5 separate regions of the Homo sapiens genome follow, and all the other regions are linked to region 3. Evidence: promoter capture Hi-C in 16 types of primary human blood cells and fetal thymus (Javierre and others, 2016). All regions are on one chromosome and are shown on one strand. Each heading gives the region's core, a stretch centred on a gene start or on the middle of the fragment in contact. The rest is flanking DNA. Distances are from core to core; before and after follow the strand shown.

Region 1 (2,700 bases), core at 134-2,633, 350 kb after region 3:
TTTAATTTATATAACTTTATAAGACTCTTAACATAAATAAATTCCCAAATCAGAATAAAAAGGCTTTGTCTGGTCACATACTTCTGGGGTTTTGAGTTCAGAAAATACAAGTCTTCATTAGCTCCTGTCTTCAGCAACCATTAATAGACAGAGTTAGAAGTAGTAGGATTTTGTTCATTTTTGTTATTCAGCTGAAATACTTGTAATTTTTTTGTCACAAACTCTGATCTGAAACTCTGATTTCAGAACTTGTGCCATATTGTCTTTCACACTATTTAACATGCTGCCAAAAGAGAAGGAAAACTCAAGTATAAGGTACTATGCTGGGTGCTTTGCATATATTAATTCACTTCATCCACATGGCAAAACTCTGCAGTACATATTATTATTGCCAATTTGCAGATAAGGAAGAATAAACTTAGAGTGCTTAAGAAACTTGACAATATTCAATCAGAACGTTAAGCATCAGAGCAAAATTGATTCCAGCTGATTCTAATTCTGAAACCAATCCTTATCCTAAACAACAACAACAACAACAAAACTTATTTAGTGTTTTGCTGTAGGAGAGCTTTTCTTATCCAATAGGTTGTAGAGTATTTAAGGGTAGAGACTATCTAGTTTACTGTTACATTCTGAGCAAGAGTCCAGAAACTGGCATCGATATAATAGATGTCCAATAAATATCTGTTCAGTCAAATTCAAAGGGATGGTCCTCTGGTCCTGGTATCTAAGCCTGCGGAAGAGAGAGTACAAGCCTATAATTTAGTGGTTGAGAGTATTTAATGTTGGTAAAAGACTGTGAGCCCTAGATTCAAACAGCTCAGGTTTGAATTATGATTTCTTAAGCTTACTATCTGTATGATTTGAGAATGTTACTTAGACTAAGTTTCAATTTTCTCACTTTAAAATGGGGGTAATAATTGCACCTTAATGATCACTTATGTAAATCACATTTCTCATGGTTAGTAAACATGAATGAATGGTAGCTAGTATTATAACCTTTAATTGGACTAGATTGTGGATCCCTTTTAAACATACTCCATAATTTTGTTATTTATTATGTTTATTGTTTAGAGTCTGTCTTCCCATTAAAATATAATCTTCATGGTGGCAGGGATGGTTATGTTTTAATCAGAGTATCCCAAATATTTAGAACAGTGTTGCCCAATCGAATGTTCTATACTGATGGATATGTTTCATTATTGGCATAGTCTAATACAGTAGGCACTAGCGACATGCAGTTACTGAACACTTGAAATGTAGCTAGCTAGGGTGACAGAATACTTGAATTAAAAATTTTGTTTAGTTTTTGTTCATTTAATTTAAATAGCCATATGTGGCTACTGGAATACTGTATTTGCATAGGTCTAGAATATTACATGGTACACAGAAATTTCTCAGTACATATTTGTTAAATGGATGAATTCCCTTCTGAATTCAAAAATCAAGAACAAGCTACATGATTGCATATTTAGTTCGCTCTTTAAAGATTATCAGTAAAGACGAAGCACTTTACTGATTGACTTGCTCATCTTGGAGGCTTCATGAAGTTATAATATGATTCAGTTTGCAATTTTAATACATTTTTATTTTTATTTCTTTTTGGTGTCAGGTCAAGAAAGATTTGGAAACATGACGAGGGTCTATTACCGAGAAGCTATGGGTGCATTTATTGTCTTCGATGTCACCAGGCCAGCCACATTTGAAGCAGTGGCAAAGTGGAAAAATGATTTGGACTCCAAGTTAAGTCTCCCTAATGGCAAACCGGTTTCAGTGGTTTTGTTGGCCAACAAATGTGACCAGGGGAAGGATGTGCTCATGAACAATGGCCTCAAGATGGACCAGTTCTGCAAGGAGCACGGTTTCGTAGGATGGTTTGAAACATCAGCAAAGGTAATGTGACTTTAAATAATAAGCTTAATATAAGCAAGGTTCACAAAGAAAATGGCACATAATCATCACCATCATCATAATGATAATAATATGTTTGTTTAGTGATGTATGGTTTTCACATTGCTCTAAGCTCTTTCTCATCTCAGTGCAATGAGTAGGTAAGGCAGGAATTATTATCTACAATTTAAGATCATTGTGGCAAGAGGAGGAAAGCAACTTGTACAAGGTTTCAATAGTAATAGTTGATAACTATGTTTGCCTTTTGAGGTCTTACTATGAGCCAGGCATATTTTGCATGCATTTTCCTATTTAGTCCTCACCACAACTTTATTAGGTGAGTATGGTTTTATAGTAAAGGCCTTATTCATGTGTTAGTTAATTTACACAATCAATATTTAATATGTTCACCTGTACATCAGGAATTGTGCTTCCTCCTAGGAAAGAAAAGATGGCAAACACTACATTGGGCATACCGGAATAGTGGGGTAACAGAGAATAGACAGCAAGCACAAATGTGAAGAACACAGCATAGCTTGGCCATGCTGTTTCCCCTGGATGGCAGAAAAGTGGCAGGAGGTGGAGCTGAGGCAGGGCTGGAAGATGAAGGATCCTGTATGGTGTGATGAGGATAATATACTTCTCATTGTTCCCTCATGTTGCCATCTGATATGTCAGGTTCCTGGCTTTTGTTCTACTCTCTTTTTGTTTTTGCCTGTATTTAAAAAATCTCAGTATCACAGGAGAAAAAAAAAATACTTTCATGGCAAAATTTGAAAATCCATAAAAAACCATAACTAAAATTTTAAA
Region 2 (2,847 bases), core at 287-2,786, 300 kb after region 3:
AATCATCTTCAGGTAAATTATCTAACTGAATTTTCACAGTTTCAAAGATATCCTATACATTATAAAACTAAGACAATTCGGGCTGTAATGGGTTGGTAATTTTACATTATAGTCACACAAGTAGAAGGTTGAAGGGCCAGCCTTTAAACCTCTGAAAGTAAGTACAAACCTAGGCTCTTTGAACCATACCAAAGATTCTTTTTGAAATCATGGTCTTACTGGAAAGAAAAAGGAGATTATAACTCGAAGTTTCTCTGTAGTCTCTTCTGTTCCACTTGCAGCATAAAATGCATTTTAAAAGTTGAATAGCATCTCCTTTAGTAATTACATGGCCAACGAAGCTCATTTGCCTGCAGGTTGAAGGAAATCATTCTGGAAGTTTCCTTCTGGAGTATTACTTTCTCTCAACTACCAACTACATATTGAACTCACAATTGTACTGGTATGTTAGAGATCCATAGGGGAAGAAGGGTCTTAGCAAAAGTCAGTTTCCAGAAGATGTAGAGACTGTTCAGAGGCAATATTAAGAAAGTAGAGGACTAGACATAGGTTATTGAGGACAAAGTGGAAGGGTTTCAAAAGTTGAGGCCTAGGTGAGAAATGGGATCAGATGAGAGAATACAGCCCTATTAGAAGTTGAGAGTCCAGGAGACAGCAAATGACCTGGAGGTCCTGAGCTTTGAGAGGTGACTAATAGGAACAGGAATGAAGGCACAGTGGAATTCATTCCGAAAAGCTTCAAGGCAGATGATGCTAGGGTGGCTATGAATGTTGAATGGAGGGAGGAGTGGGTAGTAGATGAGGACTGAAACTAACTAAAAACAGAATGAGTCCCCTGTGGGAAAGCAACCAGTGTTTGATGATACAACAAATCACAGAAGGAGGGGAGGACACTCCCAATGAGAGAGCAAGAAACTCCTGTTGACTCATCTAAGAAATCTGAATTCAATACCCCAATTCTTCTGCCACAAACATTTGACTATCACTTATAAGTCCTTAAATTTAGCATAATGTTGCCATTTTCAGCTTCATTGTTCCAGCTATTAGATCTAAAGGAATATCACTGTCACCTGATTAATAAAATATAGTACTTCCCAGGTATGACATTTTAGTATGGCTCTCTTTTTCTTTACTAGAGGTCTATCAAAACATATTCATCTCAGTTTCAATGTAGACAATTTAAAACCTTGCTGAGTAATTTCAAGGACATGGTAAAAGATAAAATTATCTGAGAGTTAGCTTAACTGTATTCACTACTCGCATGCTTTAAGACCCATGTCTGCCTTATTGCAGTGAGCCTATTTAACCACCACAATTTTATTGCAGGATATAAGGCAAACTGTGATCAAACTACCAATCAAGGTAACCAGATGAAGTGTAAAAACTTAATGTTAACTCCATAGTTCATATAAGAACACTTTGTGATATAATTTTTCCTTCTTTGGTTTTAGGAAGAAGATGATTCTAGTTAAATAAGTTTCATACATTAAACTAGGTACATTCAAATACAAATTTGGTCCCAGTAAACATATTTTACTTTTCTAGGTAGCTTATTCTGTTACAAAATTTACAACCTGTACAGTTAGATTTTCTTTTTAATCTGGCTCTTATTTTCCGAAAGCATGTGCCATCCCTTCTGCCTAGAATAATCTCCCTACCTATTCTGTTAGAAAATTTTTTTCAGCATTTAAAACTGAATCCAATCATTTCCTTTGTAAAGGCTTCCTTGACCCTCCTATCTCCACTGCTACATCTCTGAAGTTAATCATTTCATCCTCTGAACAATTTATAGATATATTAAAAAATTACATATATAAATAAATATATATTTTTGTCGTATTATTTTACAATTCATATACATGTCTGTCTCAGTGATTATTCATGGGAATACATTATATTATTTTCATTAGTATATCCACAGAATAGTAACTGTTCTAAGTACATGCTCAATAAATTTTGTTACATTGAACTATGTTTGGGCTTGTGGACTAATTTGTCACTTCCTTAATTTTGGCCAATTTTGCAATGGTGTTTACCGAAATTAATATATATGGTTAAATACAGTGAAGATAGTCACTAATCAGATATGAATACTTCCTTAGGGCCATTAGAGTCTAGGGCAGAGAAAAAAAAGCATTGCCACCTCTGAAGTGTCTCCATTACTGGAGTTTTTTTATTGACTGAGAAATTTTTAGATGGTATATCTCCATCCTCCTTACCCCATTCTTCTTTCTCCTGGATCCTACATCTTCTGGTACTTTTCCCTTCAAAAGTTGGGCATTTCAAAAATGTAAAGGAACCCCTCTTGCCACACACTTAATTAAGAAAAAGCTTCTATGTAAGATTGTTTCTCAAACTTGAGTAAAATATAGACCTTTCTTAAAATGAAAAAAAATTTATCTATTACTAGTGTTAACTGATATTTGTTATGTTACTAAGATATGTATAAGAATAAGAAAGAGTAGGTATAAACTCATGTATTATTTTAGAACTAAACAAACCGAAACACATTTCTAAATTAAATACATAAATCTAGGACTTACTTAATTAAAATCAATATATTAATTAAATGTTATATAAATGTCACTGTTTGACATTTAAATGTCAATATTGAATTCAATAGTACAAACATGCATTTTCTTGTCTTATGCTTTACTTTTTGTGGACTTAATTTTGTTCTCTTGTACTGCCTAGGCTATTCTGTGTATATTTTCCATTATTACTATCATTTTAATTTCTTTTTTAACAGAAACATTTTTTGTAACTATGAAAATATTATTTTAGTGGACCAATTAAATTAACGATGCATAATAAAATATAATAATGGAAAAATTAAAGGGCCATTTA
Region 3 (2,700 bases), core at 193-2,692:
ATTATTAGTAATGCATTCTTGAGATCTTTTATTTTGGAATGATGCTAACTCTGTCTCTTTGCCAATTCTAATACCAGGTTCCAAGTAATAACTCTACAGTACAAAGAGAACTGAATATTCATTCTAGGGCTATAGGATATGAACTTCACAATTCATTTGGGTACATTCTCATTGAATTTCCTTCAAAACAATCTGTTCCTGGTGCCCAGTGATAATTCAGTCGGGACCAGCATGACTAAAAGGAAGGGGATATGCTAAGGCTCAGCAAAGTGACCCTAAATGAGAGATATGTCCCAGGATGGAAAGAAGAAGACGTGGTTTAACCAAGTTATACTGACTAATCTAAGCAGTCCACTCATCCTTCCATTTTGGGAAAGGAGTGGGGGCAGCCTAAGAAGAACATATCTGGATTGGGAAGAACCGTCTTTCTGGGCTAGGGATGGGGAACAGAAAGGGAGTATGGAAAGAAAAATTATAAGAGATTTGACTGAAGCAAGGAAAAAAAGCAAATCCCCAAACGTGCTAATCCTTGAAAGTAACTATCTTTCCCAAACTACTGCTGTTACCAGCAAGTGATCAGGAAGACTAGGAGCTATTTCTGACTGTAAATGAATTGTATAATAGCTCTGCTGCAGTTCTGTGACTTCCAAGCCAGGAATTAAATGCTCTTTTTAAGAATAACAAAAAACAAAAGCATTTCCTATGCTAGTCTCCCAGTAAAATGTACATGTTTTGGAGACTTCAAAGGTATTATGTGAGTTCACATTTAGCAACAGCTTATTAATAACCCTCAAGCTGTCAGAATCTCTATAGTTACCATTTACAATTTTATACTGTGAAAAAATACAGATCAGTGAAAGCATAAAGACAAGTCAGAATTCACTTTGAAGAGGGTCTGAGGCCTGGGAGAGTCTCTACTGTCTATTGAAGAATGAGGCATGTATAAAATAGTTGGTTGAATTTCACTGATCTTCCCAATGTGAACAAATATACTATGTATATTGTGTGTATTTCTAGAAATCAATGGCAGCTGCTGATGGTGTTGTAATTAGAAATCTATATAGATTATAGATGTTTTAGAAAGATGGTGCCAATCCTAAAAGATTTGTGTGGGCTAAAAGTGCTTGTACTTACTTTTTTCTGCACTTATAACTGATTTGGTTTTAAAATTGTGTGCGTGTATCTGTTCTTTCTCTGTTGTGGCAGCTTGTACTATTAAAATAATAGAGAATGTTAAATTATTTTGATGTGAACTGCAAATGATTTTTTTTCATAAAGTTTAACATTTTTATCAGCATTGTTTTGCTTTGTACTTGTATAAATATGTTTTATTTTAGCACTTCAAAATATACTTGCCTGTTTCTCAGTTGTCTAAATCATGTTGTACTTGGTGTTTGTGAAGCCAGTTACTTTTCAAAAAAATTAAAAAACCTATAATATGATTTTAAGATTATTCCCCTCAAATGTTTAGAATGTTGTCTTAATAGTGTTTTCTGAGATGAAAAGAGCCATGATACTAATTAATCTTGAATACTGGATGATCTATACATTTGAATTATGGGGTTTACAAAGTAAGCAGTGGACTGTATAGATTTAAATGAAAATATAAACCAACCACAAACCAACCAGAGATGTTGTCCCCAAACACATCTACAAACAACTGTTACATAAAGAAGTACTTAAAAAAATATATAGGAAATATGCATTGTTTATGCATCTAGACATACAAATTATAGAAATAGTTTCATAATTATATGTGTTGATAGAGGTAACATCACACAGATAAAATAGATTATTTGTGTGTGTATAGATGTGTGTTTACAAACATACATATTTATATAGACATTTGACTTTTGAGTCCATCTGCATGTGTCTCTGTGTATATGTGTGTTTGTGTGTAGATGTATGTGCATATTACATAATTTTTCCAGAAAAAAAAAAAGTTTTACTTTGACTGATTCTTGAGCAAATATACATTCCCTGGACACAAATTAGTGAAAAACTAACAGCAGAATATAAGGTAGATGCTTGATGTATGGAAGAGAAAAACAAGGTATATTTAAAAATATATTTGATTTATGCTTCTGACATTGTATTAAATGCATAATGATATATATACATATGTAGATACATATATTATACAGAATGTGTTTGATCTTAACAAAGAAAGCCATTTTATCTGTTTTGTCAGACTCTTCCCTTCAGTATCTTTTATTCTAACGTGATATGAATGGTAATATGTTCACATAAAATTGAGGATGAAGTGACATATACAAACCAGGTACAGGAAATTACCTTCTAAAAATCCAAAGAGCCTTATCAGACTCCATCAAATTATGGAAGGCCATTTAAAACCAGCGGATGCAATAGAAATAGCATTGAATTAAAAGCCAGGATCTCTTACCTGTCACCAACTGACTTTGGATAAATCACTCTGATTTCTCTACAACTTGTTCCTCTTGCTTTAAATGCAGAAGTGAGTTACAATAATCTGTGAAGTTTCTATCATTTCAACATTCCTGATAAATGCTCAATAGTAGCTATTATTAGTGTCAATGTAGTATTTAGTATACAGTTAATATTCAGCAGGAAGCTTAAATTTGTTATATCAATGTTATTTGTGGAGCTTAACAAGTTCCTGTCCAACTTAAAGCATATATCCTGGAGGAAACCTATTGAGGTTTGAACTCATATGCAACC
Region 4 (2,700 bases), core at 183-2,682, 280 kb after region 3:
TTTTCCCATAGCTTCTTGCCCATGCTTCTTGCCTGAAGGGACCTTACACTCCCTGGTCACAGGCCCAGAGTGCCATTCTGAGAACTTAATACTGGGCTGTGCCCCAACCTTGGGCCAAGTTTGAGGTGACATAGTTGCAGCTGCCACCCAGCTGGGAAAGGGATAAGTGAGACAAAGCTCTCCTAAGCACAGTTAGGACAATGCTTACTGCCCTGCTACAGGTGGCTGTGGGACTGGAGACTAGCCCACCCAACCCATCACAGCTTCCAGCAACAACAACATGCGTTGCTTGGGTCCCAGTGGGTTGCACCACCATTGCTACTACCATCACCCATACCACATTAGCTACCAAGGGTCCTAAGAACCCACCCACACACTGGGACCACTGCTCTTACTATTAATTTCTAAGCAAGCCACGTGAAGGCTCAAGAATCAGTCCTCCCAGACTCACAAACACTAGAGCCAGTGTAAGTTGCTCTGGGGCCTGAAAGGACCCCACTGCTACTACCACCAGAGCCTGAAGACTGATTTAGTTGGTGTCCAGGTCACTAGCTTAATTCCACCACAAACTCAACTATTAGCTGTACCCTTAGTCACTGAGGAAATCACAGAGACCACTGCCCTGTGTACTGCCAAAATATTCATACAAAGATCACACTACCATGAGCACCCAAAATCAAAGCCACAGTATCTTAACTGAATCAACAACATATACACATCCTCAGGAAAAAATTCTCCCCTATGAAAGCAATTTCAAAAACTTGGAAAAAGTGACTGCTATACAAGATGCACCAAAATCAATGGAGGGACACAGGAAACATGAAAAATCAGGGAAATATGATACCATCAAAGGACCAAAATTATCCAATAACAGATCCCAATCAAAAATAATTCCTCTTTAAAAGTTCAGATAAAGAATTCAAAATACTGATCTTAAAGAATCTCAATGAGATGCAAGATAAACCTGAAAATCAATACAAAGAAATCAGAAAATCAATCCAGGATATTAATGAGAAATTTACCAAGGAGATGAACATCATAAAAACAAATAGAATAGAAATTCTGGAATTAAAAAATTCATTGAAAGAAATAAAAAATATATCCAAAAGTTTCAATAATAGACTAGACCAAGAAGAAGCATCTCAGAACTTGAAGACAAGACTTTCAAAATAATCCTGTCAGACAAAAATAAGAGAAACAGAATAAAAAATGAATGAACAAAGCTTTCAGACATCTGGGACCAGATAAAGTGACCAAATTTACTAATTATTGGTATTGCCAAAAGTGAAGAGGGATCAAAAAGTTTAGAAAACATATTTAAGAAAATAATGAAAATTTCTCATCTATCAAGAAAGTTAGGCATCTAGATACAGGGGACACAGCAACCCCAAGGAAAATACATTGCACAAAGGACCTCACCATGGCATATTATACTCAGAATGTCTAAAGTCCAAGTGAAATAAAGAGTTTTAAAATTAGCAAGAGAAAAATATCAAGTCAACTATAAAGGAAATCCCATCAAACTAACTGTGGACTCTTCAGCAAAAGTATTACAGGCCAGAAGAGAATGAGATGGCACTTTCAAAATACTGAAAGAAAAACTTCCAGCCAATGATTTTGTATCCTGCCAGAATAAGCTTTATAAATGAAGGATAATTTAAGTCATTCTCAGACAAGAAAGAACTGAGAAAACTTGCCACTACTAGACTCTAGACTAGACCTATAGTAAATGCTCAAAGAGTCCTTAAGCAAGAAATGAAAGGTTAATATTCACCACCATGAAAACACATGGCAATATACAACTTACAGTTTGTATAAAACAATCACACAAAAGAGGAATAGAAAGATGTCAAAGATACCACAGAATTTCATTAAACCACAAAGACAAAAAGAAAAAAAAAGAATTGTTTAAAACAACTTGAAATCAATCAATAATAAGCCAGAAACAAAGCCTCACATATCAATATTAACCTTGAATGTAAATGAATAAAATGCTGCACTTAAAAGATAAAGATTGGCAGAATAGACAAAAAGCCCACAATCCAACTATATGGTACAAGAAATTCACCTTGCTGAATTAGACTGAAAGTAAAGGGATGAAAACTATATGGTACAAGAAATTCACCTTACTGAATTAGACGGAAAGTAAAGGGGTGAAAAAAGATATTCTACACAAACCAACCAAAAGTGAGTAGGAGTAGCTATGCTTATATCAGATAAAGCAGACTTTAAATCAAAAACAGTAAAGAAAGAAGATGAAGGAGGCCATTATGTAATGATAAAGGGATCAATTCAGCAAGAGGATATAACGATCCTAAGTATATATGCATACAACATTGGAGCACCTATATTTACCAAACAAATATTACTAGACCAAAAGAAAGAGACAGACAGCAATGCAATAACAGTAGAGAGTTTTAATATCCCACTAACAGCACTAGACAGATCATTGAGGTAGAAACTTAACAAAGAAACATTGGCCTTAAATTGGACTTCAGAACAAATTGACTTAATAGACATTTATAAAACATTCTACCTAATAAATAGAGAATATGCATTATTTTCACAATCGCATGGAATATTCTCTAAGATAGACCAAATATTAGGCCAAAAATAAGTATTAACAGATTGTAAAAAATCAAAATCATATCAAGTACTTACTCAGATTACACTGGAATAAAGTCAGAAATCAATGCCAAC
Region 5 (2,700 bases), core at 116-2,615, 340 kb after region 3:
AGAGAAATTTAGGGGTGATCGGAATAGGTTGATCTTTGCTCTTACGGACTTTTAGAGTCTGGTGTGGCATAAAGATATTTATTTCAAAATAATTATTTAGTCATTGAAAAGTGATCTGATGGGAAAGTATCACATGCTAAAAGAAAGTCAACCAGGGGACTTACCATAGCCATAACATGGAGATGAGAAGACATCATGCGGGCTTCAGTAATCTGACCTAGCTGAAGATTACAATGTGTGAGGAAGGAGGTGTTAAGAGGGATGCGGCAGACAAATTAGGAAAGGTCATATATGCCAAATTAAATGTTAAGAACGGTGAAAGTGAAAATTCCTTACATTTATCAATTTATCAAAGCAATATTTGCAATTTAAATACCACAGTAATTCTAACAAATAGGTCTTCTTACTTCCAGTTTCATAGATGAGGAAGCTGGGCCAAGCATAAGTAGAACATGACACCTGGTACATAATTGTTGCTTAGTAAAAGTGGTTTGGTGTTAAGCAGTCACTGAGGTTCATACTAAAGCCATCACTCATCTGGTGAATTTTTGAGAATAGATGTTTTGAGTTACACTTACAATCCTTTCTCTCCCTCTTCTGATGATTCACTTTGGAGATTCCTTGAAAGCTTTCAAACCATTGAGAAGCTTTATTTATGTTACTTTCTTAGATTCTGGGATGCATATTCCCAGAAGAATACAGTGGACCTATTGCTCCTGGGGTAGGAATCAGGTTTATTCCAGCAAGGGATGATCCTTATCTTCTAGGATGGTGAATTAGACTGATGTCCTTCAACTTGGCAAGGTCAAGTCTGAGACTCTAGCCTGGGGTTCTTAATAATTGAGTTTTACTCATTTTTTCAGCTGTTCAGGAATTTAAGAAGTTACGTGATCTTAAATTACTCTTTGAAAATAATTCGGATTTTAACTTCTACTGTTCTCTCCTTCCTTTCATTGCCCACTCTCAAGTACTAATTAAATTTTGTCTTTTCTACCTTATAAAATAAATATCTCATCCATCTTTTCAATAGCCACATCTTCTTCACAACTCACCGGAACTGTTGCAGCAGTTGCCTCCTGCCCATCCCCTCCTCCAGCTTCCCTGCCAATCAGTTTGTAATCGACAGTGGTGATACCCCTCATCATGGTGTTGTTCTCCAGTTGATATTCTCATCTGGGACCCATCACTGGAGCCACAGCATTTTTAGAATTAAAGGCTGAACTTTTTAGCATGACAGTCACGACCATCATAACTGTCACTCATTTGTCATTCAGTCTTATCTCTCACATCTATGATTTTTACATTCCAGATATCTTACAGTGGCCCCAGTATACCTACCTTCCCCTTTATGCTGTGGCTCACACAGTTGTCTCTAGCTAAAAAAAAACACCTTCCTCTTGTTAACATAGATAACTCCTATGGGTCCTTTTCACTCTATCAATATCACCTCCTCCAGAATGTCTGTTGAAACCATGAGACTCAGGGAAACACTTTTTCTGCTCCCATAAAGTTCCATGATTACTCCAGATAGAAATAGTTTACTATTGCATTGGAATGTCTTTTTCCTCCAAAGTGTATCCCTGGGTCCTAACATAGTATTTGGACATGTGGTAGGAACTCAAGTAGTATTTGTTCAATAAAGTTTTTCAGTCAACTATTGTATCAATGCCTTAATTCTAAGACATATCATTGATCTAAACATTTCTTCAATAAAAAATAGACTTCTGTTCATGATTGAAAAACTTCACAACTTTATAAACATTAATATATAAAAGTATAATTTAGAATTGAGAAATATGGCAACCACTTTTCTTAAGGAGACATTCTATTTTTTTTCCAACCATGAAAACTGGGAAATGTCCTTAAATACCATTCTTAAAAGCTGTGTTTTTGCATTTAACAGTCTCCATAATTTGAAGTGAAATGTCATTCATTTGGATGTCAAATGGCAAAACTATATCTTTTTTAAAATTTAAGCGTATATTATATAAAATAATAACTTCGTGAAAGGTAATTTTACAGAATTAAAACCCTGAGTACTCATCAAAACCATATCAGTCATTTTATGGATGAGCAAGCTTGATCTGGAAGGGAGGTGACATTAGTTTCTCAGGCCCACAGAGCTTGTTAGTGGTAGAATTAGAACCAGAACACAAGATTACCTGGCTTATTACCAAGGAAGCTTGAATAATTAAAAACGTATTTTTTAATACTAGGTGTTTGGGTGCTGTCTTCAGCATTGAGTTATAATGATGATCAAATTGGGAAGGCACCCAGCCCTGTGGAAGTTCGTGCAGTGGAGAAGAGGAGATAATGGCATAGCAGTGGAGACACCCAAAGTCATCCACAGTTTGGCTTTAAATAGCATTTCTAATATCATTTTCTCCCTCCCTCCATGATGAGGTCTAAATTTCAACCATTTGAACTCCTTGCTATTCCTGGTTCATTTCCATGCTTATTGCCTCTGAGCCTTTGCTCCTGCTTGCCCTGCTGGTTCATGTCTGCTGGTTCATGTGTCCTTCCCTTTGGAAGCACATCCAAATCCTACCTGATGTCTAAGACCTATCTGAAAAGGCAGCTCCTCTACAGAGACTTTCCTAGTTCTCTCTGTCAGTAGTAACTTCTTCCTCCCTTGAGTCCCATACAACTTTTCTTTCCCTTGTTTGTAGCACTTCTCTAGTTAAGCTTTGTGTTACAGTT

Evidence for each region. The method cuts DNA at HindIII sites, captures the fragments that hold promoters and counts their contacts. A CHiCAGO score of 5 or more calls a contact.
Region 1: a contact is called between a fragment that was not itself captured here and the fragment with the promoter of GRM5-AS1 in region 3, in 8 of 17 cell types (activated CD4 T cells, monocytes, total CD8 T cells and 5 more). The highest score is 10.5, in activated CD4 T cells.
Region 2: a contact is called between a fragment that was not itself captured here and the fragment with the promoter of GRM5-AS1 in region 3, in 2 of 17 cell types (activated CD4 T cells and M1 macrophages). The highest score is 5.5, in activated CD4 T cells.
Region 4: a fragment that was not itself captured here is called in contact with the fragment with the promoter of GRM5-AS1 in region 3 in 4 of 17 cell types (activated CD4 T cells, monocytes, total CD8 T cells and 1 more); the score reaches 6.0 in activated CD4 T cells.
Region 5: a contact is called between a fragment that was not itself captured here and the fragment with the promoter of GRM5-AS1 in region 3, in 7 of 17 cell types (total CD4 T cells, monocytes, total CD8 T cells and 4 more). The highest score is 6.5, in total CD4 T cells.

What each region holds. Positions count from the first base shown.
Region 1 is chr11:88,148,868-88,151,567 of GRCh38, reverse strand. RAB38 (RAB38, member RAS oncogene family) reads left to right here. Exons shown (of 3, transcript NM_022337.3): 2 at 1,613-1,893. Among named protein-coding and RNA genes, the nearest start is that of RAB38, 25 kb to the left of the region's middle. The HindIII fragment of the contact is 1,070 bases long and covers 849-1,918 here.
Region 2 is chr11:88,204,888-88,207,734 of GRCh38, reverse strand. No RefSeq gene overlaps it. Among named protein-coding and RNA genes, the nearest start is that of MIR3166, 30 kb to the right of the region's middle. The HindIII fragment of the contact is 1,595 bases long and covers 739-2,333 here.
Region 3 is chr11:88,503,318-88,506,017 of GRCh38, reverse strand. It overlaps GRM5-AS1 (GRM5 antisense RNA 1), which reads right to left and starts at 1,442. Exons shown (of 6, transcript NR_049724.1): 1 at 1-1,442. It overlaps GRM5 (glutamate metabotropic receptor 5), which reads left to right. Exons shown (of 10, transcript NM_001143831.3): 10 at 1-1,376. The HindIII fragment of the contact is 8,959 bases long and covers 1-2,595 here.
Region 4 is chr11:88,227,919-88,230,618 of GRCh38, reverse strand. No RefSeq gene overlaps it. Among named protein-coding and RNA genes, the nearest start is that of MIR3166, 53 kb to the right of the region's middle. The HindIII fragment of the contact is 414 bases long and covers 1,226-1,639 here.
Region 5 is chr11:88,165,895-88,168,594 of GRCh38, reverse strand. All of the region lies in intron 1 of RAB38 (RAB38, member RAS oncogene family), which reads left to right. Among named protein-coding and RNA genes, the nearest start is that of RAB38, 8.2 kb to the left of the region's middle. The HindIII fragment of the contact is 1,431 bases long and covers 650-2,080 here.